Linked DNA regions of Homo sapiens: region 2 is linked to region 1. The links are contacts of gene promoters, found by promoter capture Hi-C in blood cells and fetal thymus (Javierre and others, 2016). All regions are on one chromosome and are shown on one strand. The core of a region is centred on a gene start or on the middle of the fragment in contact, and the rest is flanking DNA. Distances in the headings are between cores, read along the strand shown. Region 1 holds the start of LAS1L (LAS1 like ribosome biogenesis factor). Region 2 has its middle 13 kb from the start of YIPF6.

Region 1 (3,128 bases), core at 243-2,742:
ATTCAAAGGTAAGAAAAAATATCAGACCACCAAGAGACCCACAGAGATCACCTGGTCTGAATCCCTTCCTCCACATTCCAAGATAGAAAGAAAAATGGAAGAGAAGGCTTTCAGGAAAAAGGAAGAAAAAGAGGAATGCGTTGACGAGGGTACCAAAAGCTGATAAGTCAAGCAATAATCACAGGCTGATCCACAGTGAGGTACACGCAGGGTTTTGCTTCAGGTAACACCTGAAGCCAAGTTTTGCTTATCACATGCCTCCCCTGCCTCCAGTCCCCAAAGCCAACCTCCACCCCTACCCCATGCAGGTCTTACCTGACCAATGCCATGCCATAGAGCAGTCTAAGTTCATCAGTGCCCAAGCCACCAGTTACATCCAAGAGCTTACAGCGTATCAGGTCAGCAGTAGAAGCCACTGCCAGAGGGAGTTCGTTGCCTGACCTAAAGGGTCACAGTCCAGCACCATCATAAAGAGCCCTTACACTGGTCCACCCTCCACCTCAGAACCTAGGTTGTTGCAGGCTACACCCATCATATTCTGGTTCAAGAGAGCATGAACAGACACAAAACAAGAAGGTGGGAGGAGACACGGTAATGTCTGTGGGATCCAACAGTATACAGGGCATGAGGAGCTGACTAGGCCGTATACAGGACACCTAACTGGTAGACTGTCCATCAACAGTTGTGTGGACACACCCCTTTCTTTCACCCCCAAATCAACTCATTGAGCTAGAGGAGCCCCTTATCCCTTGTAAGTCGGCTCCCAACTCAATCTTACCAACTGGACTGAGGCGCCCCACTCAAACACTGTCTTGCAGGCAAGACTTCCTCCCCATTGGAATCGGAAATCTACCCTAGGGTACTAATCTACTCCTTAAGCCCTGGCTCAGGCCTCACTAGTCCCTCCGGCATCCTCTCCAAGTTGGGAGAAAGTCACTTTTTGGAGGTAATGGGTAAACCTCACAGATATAACAAGAGAATTGTTGAGGCACAACCCCTTACTTTCCATTCCGCTAACGGGATTAGCGCAAGAGATGGCTGCCGCGTTCCCCCAGGCATTTGGGAGAGGGACAACTTTAGGCGACTTAGGGGAAGACTGGAGAACAGGGCCTTATAGAAACTCGACAAAGGAAGAGGTGCAGCGCCACCAGCACGCAGGCAAAAGGGCCGAACCCGCCACCTTACCTGCTCCTCCACACCGTGATGCGGTTAAGCGCGTACCGCTGCAACTTATGGTCGTCACAGAACAGATAAACCGTCACCTGGTCCCACTCGGCCCTGCTGAGCCAGGCGACCACGATGCCGTGGGCCGAGAGTGGCAACGACCCTTTCCCTTTAACGCACTTTCCGTACCACGCACTCCACACGAGATCCATCCCCTGGGAACCTAGACCTGGCCCGGCCCCGGATTCCCACGACATACTGAGCTCAACAACAGGCTCTGTGCCGCGCCGCTCCGCACAGCCTTCAGCTCAGCGTGCTACCCTCACTCCGAACCGCCACCGCACCAGCAGCCAATAGGAGAGCGTGACCCCATACGCAAGCCCGCCTTCCAGCGTCAGCATGGCCAATCGGAACGTCAGAATTGGGCGCCGACCTAATGACATGCGGGGTTAAAAACTCACCGGCCGGAAGTGTTCTTTTCACAAAGCAAACCCTCCAGGGGCAAGAGTTCAGCCTCTAGGTTCCGCCAATTTCCTGGTTGCTAACCGGCTTCTGTACCAGACCGGAAGCGGTATGTCTTCACTGCAAGAGGAATTTTATTTTGCTCCCCTCGGCGGGTGGCAGCTTGATTGTAGTCATCCAGTGAACTGAAAATGCGATTTTAAGTATATTTTTATTGCCGTGAATCAGGACCTAACCTAGTAAAACACTGGACACTGAAGCAGGGCTACAGAGGAAATATCTCATATCGAAACAGTTACAGTTGGGTTGAAAAAATCTGCTTTTGTGGCAGGTAACCAGGGGCCCTGCCTTTTAAATTAGTACCAGCCTGGCCAGGCGTGGTGGCTCACGCCTGTAATCCCAGCACATTGGGAGGCCCAGGCGGGCGGATCACTTGAGGTCAGGAGTTCCAGACCAGCCTGGCCAAAATGGTGAAACCCGGTCTCTAGTAAAAATACAAAAATTAGCTAAGCATGGTTGCACATGCCTGTAATCCCAGTTACTCAGGAGGCTGAGGCACAAGAATCGCTTGAATCCGGGAGGCGGAGGCTGCAACAAGCCAAGATCGCACCAGTGCACTCCACCCTGGGTGACAGATCGAGACTCTGTCTCAAAAGTAAATTAAATAAATACATACATAAATAAATAAATAAATACCAGCCTAGAGACCTGAGTTTTACTCTAAATTTTGCCACTAACTATGTGGACTTAGACTAGTCTCAGTTTTCCCATCTGTACAGTGAGAGTTGTAGACTGGTCTCTAGGTTCTCTGTCATAGCAGAAAATTGTAGAATTTTACTCTGCCAACATTCCACTGCTATGTTGGTTTCAACATCCACCAAGGTATACTTAGTTTTTCTGCAAAATTCCTTGGTATTTTGGAGTTCTGGGAGAAAAGCGGTATTATGAAGTTCCTCCGATTTTACGAGTTGACTGAAATATGTTTAGGACTATGTCCCAATCCTTCTTGCAGAAGTTATTTTCCAATGTAACACTTGAGAGAGAGAGAGAGAGAACTGTTGCTAACGATCTTAACAGCATTGCTGTGAGTGGCACTTTTACGCTTCACAGCAACAAATCCCAATTCATCCTCTATATGTGCTTCTTTCTCCAGCCAACTTTTCCTAAGATATAGTCTGCCTATAGTTATTTTATTTTTCTTTTTTTCTTTTTCTTTTTTTTTTTGACATGGCGTCTGGCCCAGTCGCCCAGGCTGGAGTGCAGTGGCACAATTCTCGGCTCACTGCAACCTCTACCTCCAGGGTTCAAGTGATTCTCTTGCCTCAGCCTTCCAAGTAGCTGGGATTACAGGCGCCTGCCACTATGCTTGGCTAATTTTTGTATTGTTAGTAGAGACAGGGTTTCACCATGTTGGCCAGGCTGGTCTGGAACTCCTGACCTCAAGTGATCCACCAGCCCAGGCCTCCCAAAGTGCTAGGATTACAGGCATGAGCCACCGTGCC
Region 2 (3,175 bases), core at 590-3,089, 3.0 Mb after region 1:
ACAGGTATAGTTGGAAACTTCAACACTCCTCTCTCAGTAATTGATAGAACAAGAAGGCAGAAAATCTGTAAGAATACAGATAACATGAAGTACATTATCAACCAACTTGACCTAATTGATAACACTCCACCCAACAACAGCAGAAGAGACACTCTTTCCAAGTGCACTTGAATCATTCACCAACACAGACTGTATTCTAAGTCACAAAACAAACCTTAACAAATTTAAAAGAATATAAGCCACACAAAATATGTTCTCAAACCAGAAGGAAACTAAATAAGAAGTTGATAACAAAATGATACCTTGAAAAATTCCCAAATATTTGGAAACTAAACAGCATACTTTTTTATTTTATTTTTATTTTTATTTTTATTTTTTTTTGAGACAGGGTCTCATTCTGCTGCGCAGGCTAGGGTGCAGTGGCGCCATCATAGCTCACTGTAACCTTGAACTCCTGGGCTCAAGTGATCCACCCACTTCAGCCTCCAGAGTAGCTGGGATTACAGGTGTGTGAAACCATGCCTGGCTAATTTTTCAATTTTTTGTAGAGATGGGGGTTTCTCCATGTTACCCGGGCTGGTCTCGAACTTCTGGGCTCAAGTGATCCTCCTGCCTCGACCTCCCAAAGTACTGGGATTACAGGCAGGAACAACCGTGTCAGACCGGTTTCTGCATTTTTAAGATCTGTAAAAACCCAAAACAAAAAGACATAAAAGAATAATATGCAACAGAGACAATTGATGGTCTACATAACCTAAAACATTTACTATCTAGCCTTTTACAGAAAATATTTGGCAACTTTTGATTTAGAGGACTGATTCTCTGACAGTTGTTTGTTTTTGAGATGGAGTCTCACTCTGAAGCCCAAGCTGGAGTGCACTGGCACGATCTCAGCTCACTGCAACCTCGCTTCCTGGGTTCAAGCAATTCTCATGCCTCAGCCTGTGGAGTAGCTGGGATTACGGGATGCCCCACCCCACCCAGCTAAGCTTTGTATTTTTAGTAGAGACAGGGTTTTGCTATTTTGGCCAGGCTGGTCTCGAACTCCTGACCCAAGTGATCCGCCCGCCTCGGCCTCCCAAAGTGCTGGAATTACAGGAGTGAGTCATGGCGCCAGCCTGATTCTCTGAGAGTTTTAAAGATATTTTTACATAGTCATTGTTCTGATGAGGTTTCCTAAATTCTCTTGGGTCAGTTTGAACACTTAAATTTTTCTAAGAAACAGTCTATCTCCTTGATGCTTTCAAACTTATTTGCATAGATTTGTACATAGCACTTTCATGTAAATTAAAAATAAAAACCAATTTTCCATTATTATTCTTGGCCTAAATTTCTTTATTATTATTATTATTATTATTATTATTATACTTTAAGTTTTAGGGTACATGTGCACAATGTGCAGGTTAGTTACATATGTATACATGTGCCATGTTGGTGTGCTGCACCCATTAACTCGTCATTTAGCATTAGGTATATCTCCTAATGCTATCCCTCCCCCCTCCCCCCACCCTGCAACAGTCCCCAGAGTGTGATGTTCCCCTTCCTGTGTCCATGTGTTCTCATTGTTCAATTCCCATGTATAAGTGAGAACATGCGGTGTTTGGTTTTTTGTCCTTGCGATAGTTTACTGAGAATGATGATTTCCAGTTTCATCCATGTCCCTACAAAGGACATGAACTCATCCTTTTTTATGGCTGCATAGTATTCCATGGTGTATATGTGCCACATTTTCTTAATCCACTCTATCATTGTTGGACATTTAGGTTGGTTCCAAGTCTTTGCTATTGTGAATAGTGCCACAATAAACATACGTGTGCATGTGTCTTTATAGCAGCATGATTTATAGTCCTTTGGGTATATACCCAGTAATGGGATGGCTGGGTGAAATGGTATTTCTAGTTCTAGATCCCTGAGGAATCGCCACACTGACTTCCACAATGGTTGAACTAGTTTACAGTCCCACCAACAGTGTAAAAGTGTTTCTATTTCTCCACATCCTCTCCAGCACCTGTTGTTTCCTGACTTTTTAATGATTGCCATTCTAACTGGTGTGAGATGGTATCTCATTGTGGTTTTGATTTGCATTTCTCTGATGTTCTTGGCCTAAATTTCAATTCCATCTTTACCACTAACCAAATTTCCAAGCAATTTGGAGCAAATAATTTACCTCTTTGAAGTCTCATTTTCTTGCAAAATGGGAATAAGAATAAAACCTACCTCATAGAATTTTTGTGAAGATAAGGTACAAAAATGTACGTGCAATTAGTTTGTAAAATAGTAGAGTTCATACAGATGTTAGTTAATATTTTTAATCTGCTTAAATGCAGTCATTTCATATATGTGAACTTTTCCTTTTAATCTTGAGATGTTATCCTTGAGTGGGAAGATATGGGATCAGACCTAGTATATAAGTGCCTTAGATAATACAGTTGATTGTGAGGAGAAATGGCAGAGAATGTGCTTATGGATGCTAACAAGTGGGTACATGTGGTGGTCAATAGAAGGTCTCTTTGGATTGCTTTTATTTTCTCAGTGAAGTAGGGGGCAAAGTTTTCATCTGAAATTCAGGATTGGAGAGGAGACATTGAAGTTTTGAGGAGAAAGAAGGTATGATATAATCTTTAGGTGAGTGGGCAAGTAAATGGACTTAAGAAATTTGTGTGATCACCAGGCAGCATTAAAGGTCTATGAAGCTTTGTGGTCCCTTAAAGTGAGACCAGTCAGCAAAGTTGTATGTTTTTCTCTGATTACATTTAGCTGACGATGCAAACACGAAGTATACAGAGTGTTGGGTTTAACCAGGTCTGTATTCTTGCCAAATGAGTGCAATAAAAGCAAAAGACGGGTAAGGGAGTTGAGAATGTTGCAAAGAAACGATTGTGGTGATTGCCAGTGGAGTTTAAACTGAATAAAGAGAAAAAAGTGGACATCAGGGGGATGAAAGACAGTAAAACTGTGGCAAATCAGTGGATTGTAGGTCTCAGTAGGATCGAAGTGTAGGCGTGAGTTGGTCTTGTCTCTTTCCCTGAGCTTTTATTGCTTGCTTTTTCTTAGACCTTGTTTCACATACATTAAAGCTTTGTGCTTTTCTGAGAATCCACACATGGACAGAGGTAGGAAATGATTTGGAGGGCTGGACTGAAGAATTAACTATATTTTAAATTTGTGTAGGCTG

What was found. The method cuts DNA at HindIII sites, captures the fragments that hold promoters and counts their contacts. A CHiCAGO score of 5 or more calls a contact.
Region 2: a contact is called between a fragment that was not itself captured here and the fragment with the promoter of LAS1L in region 1, in 1 of 17 cell types (neutrophils). The highest score is 6.6, in neutrophils.

Annotation. Positions count from the first base shown.
Region 1 is chrX:65,533,295-65,536,422 of GRCh38, forward strand. It overlaps LAS1L (LAS1 like ribosome biogenesis factor), which reads right to left and starts at 1,493. Exons shown (of 14, transcript NM_031206.7): 1 at 1,186-1,493; 2 at 316-441. The coding sequence starts at 1,421. RefSeq lists an enhancer at 1,588-1,767. The HindIII fragment of the contact is 19,270 bases long and covers 1-3,128 here.
Region 2 is chrX:68,484,697-68,487,871 of GRCh38, forward strand. No RefSeq gene overlaps it. Among named protein-coding and RNA genes, the nearest start is that of YIPF6, 13 kb to the right of the region's middle. The HindIII fragment of the contact is 1,704 bases long and covers 988-2,691 here.